Linked DNA regions of Homo sapiens: region 1 is linked to region 2. Evidence: promoter capture Hi-C in human tissues and cell types (Jung and others, 2019). All regions are on one chromosome and are shown on one strand. The core of a region is centred on a gene start or on the middle of the fragment in contact, and the rest is flanking DNA. Distances in the headings are between cores, read along the strand shown.

The links. The method cuts DNA at HindIII sites, captures the fragments that hold promoters and counts their contacts. A contact is called where the count stands out against the background at its distance.
Region 1: a fragment that was not itself captured here is called in contact with the fragment with the promoter of OR2D3 in region 2 in 1 of the 25 tissues and cell types used here (pancreas).

Annotation. Positions count from the first base shown.
Region 1 is chr11:6,971,821-6,974,667 of GRCh38, reverse strand. It overlaps a transcript of ZNF215 not described here. Among named protein-coding and RNA genes, the nearest start is that of ZNF215, 47 kb to the right of the region's middle. The HindIII fragment of the contact is 5,832 bases long and covers 1-2,847 here.
Region 2 is chr11:6,919,553-6,922,252 of GRCh38, reverse strand. OR2D3 (olfactory receptor family 2 subfamily D member 3) reads right to left here and starts at 1,251. Exons shown (of 1, transcript NM_001004684.1): 1 at 259-1,251. The coding sequence starts at 1,251. The coding sequence ends at 259. The region is part of intron 3 of LOC107984019 (a long non-coding RNA gene); the gene reads left to right. The HindIII fragment of the contact is 21,059 bases long and covers 1-2,700 here.

The DNA.
Region 1 (2,847 bases), core at 104-2,603, 52 kb before region 2:
CTCCCATTCACAATTGCTTCAAAGAGAATAAAATACCTAGGAATCCAACTTACAAGGGATGTGAAGGACCTCTTCAAGAACTACAAACCACTGCTCAATGAAATAAAAGAGGATACAAACAAATGGAAAAACATTCCATGCTCATGGATAGGAAGAATCAATATCATGAAAATGGCCATACTGCCCAAGGTAATTTATAGATTCAATGCCATCCCTATCAAGCTACCAATGACTTTCTTCCCAGAATTGGAAAAAACTACTTTAAAGTTCATATGGAACCAAAAAAGAGCCCACATGGCCAAGTCAATCCTAAGCCAAAAGAACAAAGCTGGAGGCATCACGCTACCTGACTTCAAACTATACTACAAGGCAACAGTAACCAAAACAGCATGGTACTGGTACCAAAACAGGGATATAGACCAATGGAACAGAACAGAGCCCTCAGAAATAATACCACACATCTACAACCATCTGATCTTTGACAAACCTGACAAAAACAAGAAATGGGGAAAGGATTCCCTATTTAAGAAATGGTGCTGGGAAAACTGGCTAGCCATATGTAGAAAGCTGAAACTGGATCCCTTCCTTACACCTTATACAAAAATTAATTCAAGATAGATTAAAGACTTAAATATTAGACCTAAAACCATAAAAACCCTAGAAGAAAACCTAGGCAGTACCATTCAGTACATAGAAATGGGCAAGGACTTCATGTCTAAAACACCAAAAGCAATAGCAACAAAAGCCAAAATTGACAAATGGGATCTAATTTAAACTAAAGAGCTTCTGCACAGCTAAAGAAACTACCATCAGAGTCAACAGGCAACCTACAGAATGGGAAAAAGTTTTTGTAATCTACTCATCTGACAAAGGGCTAATATCCAGAATCCACAAAGAACTCAAACAAGTTTACAAGGTTAAAACAACCCCATCAACAAGTGGGTGAAGGATATGAACAGACACTTCTCAAAAGAAGACATTTATGCAGCCAACAGACACAGGAAAAAATGCTCATCATCACTGGCCATCAGAGAAATGCAAATCAAAACCACAATGAGATACCATCTCACACCAGTTAGAATGGCGATCATTAAAAAGTCAGGAAACAACAGGTGCTGGACAGGTTGTGGAGAAATAGGAAGACTTTTACACTGGTGGTGGGACTGTAAACTAGTTCAACCATTGTGGAAGACAGTGTGGCAATTCCTCAGGGATCTAGAACTAGAAATACCATTTGACCCAGCCATCCCATTACTGGGTATATACCCAAAGGATTATAAATCATGCTGCTATAAAGACACATGCACACGTATGTTTATTGTGGCACTATTCACAATAGCAAAGACTTGGAACCAATCCAAATGCCCATCAATGATAGACTGGATTAAGAAAATGTGGCACATATACACCATGGAATACTATGCAGCCATAAAAAATGATGAGTTCATGTCCTTTGTAGGGACATGGATGAAGCTGGAAACCATCATTCTGAGCAAACTATTGCAAGGACAGAAAACCAAACACTGCATGTTCTCACTCATAGGTGGGAATTGAGCAATGAGAACACTTGGAGACAGGAAGGGGGACATCACACACCGGGGCCTGTTGTGGGGTGGGAGGGAAAGCATTATGAGATATACTTAATGTAAATGACGAGTTAATGGGTACAGCACACCAACATGGCACATGTATACACATGTAACAAACCTGCACGTTTTGCACATGTACCCTAGAACTTAAAGTATAATAAAAAAAATTAAAAAAATCCTTTCAATGCTAAGGGCTATTTTATGACATTGGAAATGCACAGTCTGAATTTCTCGACAGATCAGCTCTTTCTAGTCTCTTGAGCCCTACAATTATAGTTCACACTATTGTAATACTGTCTTGATAATCATTTTATAGGAAAATACAATGTAATTATTTCAGTTTCATCTCTGTCAAAATTTCTTTGGCATTTGCCAGGGAAGATTTCTGCTTTCCTTGAAATTCCACCTTCCATTGATTTATATAAGAGTTTTGGTATTTATGAAAGTAAAAGATCTTCCACTCTAATTTAAAATCCATTTATTAAAATCACTCGTGAATTTTACTTGCAAAAATCTCTTGCAAGGAGAAAAGCTTAAAGATACATTCCCAATTTAGTAGGAGAGTTTACAGTATTTGTAGTTATTCAATAGTTATTAAGTTAAATATAAAAAACAATCTGTGAATTTATAGGAAGTAAACTGCTACAATATTGGTTAAAAAAAAAAAAAAGTCTCCTAGGATAAACTTAGTCTAACGGGGGCTGATGAATTATGTGGGCCAAATTTGGCCTGTCACCTGTTTTTGTAAATAAAGTCTTATTTTAACAGTCATACCCATTCATTATGTATTGTTTATGGCTGCTTTTGTAAAAAATTGAGTAGTTTTGACAAAGAGTGACTATATAACCTATAAAGTCTAAAATATTTACTATCTCATTCTCCACAAAGAAAACAAAAGGTTACTGATGCCTGGTCTTTAATTTTAAATTTACAAATATAATTATCTCACTCAAACATTTAATGTAGTTTCCCAGATAATAGTAGGCAGTCTCAAGGTTCTAGATGAGTAGTCTTGGGAAGACAACTATTAAAACACATCTCTGAGTAGTACAGGGAAAAAAAATTTCCTTTAGTAAATAGACTTGGCAAAAACAACCTTACAGTGCCAATATGTAGTTTAAAAATGACTTTAATTTAAAATTTGTTAGCTATTCTGTAAGTACTCTATAACATTTTCCAGTTTATTCCTAAGAGACAATGGCTAACCCTGCTTTATGTACTCAAAAACACCTTTATCAATATTCTCTTCCCAGCTTGA
Region 2 (2,700 bases), core at 2-2,501:
CTTAAAACATGCCATGGCAGCTGAATTAACTACAAACTCCTCACAGTAGCACCCAACACCTTTTACAATCAAGAAATGACCTAACTTTTCATGCTTTTATTTTTTCCCTATGTTCTAGTTTAGATTGTAGTATTCACAGTTTTTAGAACATGTTCATTTTCACACTTCTTCCTGAAATAACCTAATTCATAATTGCCTACTAAAATCTTGCTCCTTTTTAAAGAATGTTGCCATAGCTCTAAAAGTCAGACTCAGAGGTCACTGCCTATGAGAGAAGCACTTTCTCCCAACTAGTTTCCTGAGAGCCCCTTTGACATCTTTGTTCCTCAAGCTATAAATTATGGGGTTCAACATTGGAGTCACCGCTGTATAGAACACAGATATCATTTTATCCAGTTCTTTTGTAGTCTTGGAGTTTGGTCGCATGTAGGTGAATATTCCTGACCCATAGAAGAGGACAACAACAATAAGATGGGAGCCACAGGTGGAAAAAGCCTTGAGTCTCCCTTCCCCAGACTGCATCTGGATAACAGTGGAGATAATATTCCAATAAGAACCAAGAATCAGGGAGACAGGGGCCAGGAGGATTACCACGCCCATTGAAAAGATGGCCATTTCTGTGCTGTAAGTGTCTATGGAAGCCAGCTTCAGGAGGGCAGGAGGTTCACAAAAGTAGTGATTGATTATATTCTGTCCCCAGTAGGGAAGATGGAAAGTAAAGCTGGTATCTACTAAAGACACTAGTGCCCCACTGGCCCAGGACCTGAAGGACAGCCAGAGACACACCCGTTGTGTCATGATGGTAGAGTAGTACAGGGGCTTGCAGACAGCCACATACCGGTCATAGGACATCACTGCCAGCAGCGCACACTCTGTACACCCAACCAGAAGAAAGACAATTATCTGTGTCATACACCCATAAAAAGAAATGGTTTTCCTCTTTACCAAGAAGTGAACCAACACTTGAGGGACAATGCTAGTAGAGAAACAGAGATCTGCAAAGGAGAGATTTCTAAGAAAAAAATACATGGGAGTGTGAAGGCGAGAATCCAGGAAGATGAGAATGATGATGAGCTGGTTTCCAAGCACGGTCAGCAGATAAATGATGAGGAAAAGGATAAATAGCAGGATCTGGGTCTGCAAGTCCTGTGAAAGACCCAGGAAGATAAACTTGGACACAAAGGTTTGGTTTTCTTCTCCCATTGATATTTTTGCCTGTTTACCTGTTTGGCACAAGAAAAAAGAACACATTTTTTTGGGTCTGTGACATCAAGTCTTGTAGAAGAGGGTCATGTTAAAACTGACACCTAGTTGAGTATTTCTAGCTCTTTGCTATCTAGCTTGTTCTAATTAACAATAAATATATATATTTATTATTATTAGTTGGTTGCAATTTAAACCAACTTAGTTATTTTCCAAGTCCTCTCTCCACAGTGCCGCTTTTTAATAGATAAAGTATGATACTGTGAAAGCCCTCTTGGCTAGTTCTGATGTAAGGATGTTAGAGTTCATGTGGATTTTACTAACTGGCTATAAATATACTGTTAGGAAATGACTGTATATACTGTTAGGACTATCCTTATGCAGAAAACTCTACCACTAACTATTTAAAATACGACATATTTAATTATAACACATACTTCAAAACTGTGAAGCAGTTTTCAGGAATCAAACTTAATTTGACCTATTAAGAAGCAACAGACTTTTGCTGGATTTAAAAGTAAAGCCTTAGCTATACTACACTAAAGGCCAAACTATTTGGATTAAGAAATAAGATATTAAAATTAAAGCAATACAAAAAGAAAAAATAAGTTAAAATTGTTGTGATACTTGGATAGGACCAGACTTGAAAAACACAAATACTTTCTAAGAAACCATGGAGAAAAATATATGCAGAATTTGCCACACAAATGGAAAGACTTCTGTGAGATAATAGTATCATAAGATAAGCCACAAACTGAGAAAAATATTGGAGAGAGGTATCAGAAAAAAAATTTAAATAATTTTATTTTTCTTCAACTTTTATTTCAGAATTAAGGTACACATGCAGGTTTGTTACAAAGTTTGGAGTACAAATGCTAAGGTTTGGTGTACAAATCAATCTGCCACCCAAGTAGTGAGCATAGTACCCAAGAAGTAGTTTTTCAGCCGTTTACCCCCTTACTCTCCCCACTCTAGTCATCCCCAGAGTCTGTCGTTCCCATCTTTATGTCAATGTGTACCCAATGTTTAGCTCCCACTTACAAGTAAGAACATGTGATATTTGGTTTCCTGTTCCTGCATTAGTTCGCTTAGGATAATGGCTTTGAGCTGCATTCATGTTGCTGTGAAGAACATGATTTCATTCTTTTTCATGGCTGCATAATATTCCATTGTGTATATGTTCCACATTTTCTTTATCCAGTCCACCACTGATGGGCACCTGGGTTGATTCCATGTCTTTTTTATTGTGAATAGTGCTGTGATGAACATATAATTGTGTGTGTCTTTTTGGTGGAATGATTTATTTTCCTTTGGGTGTATATACAGCAGTGGGATTGTTGGATCAAATATTACTTTAATTCTTAGTTCCTTGAGAAGTCCCTAAACTGCTCTCCACAGTGGCTGCACTAATTTACCTTCTACTAACAGCGTATTAGTGTTCCCTTTTTTCTGCAGCCTCACCATCATATGTTATTTCTTGACTTTTTGATGAAAGCC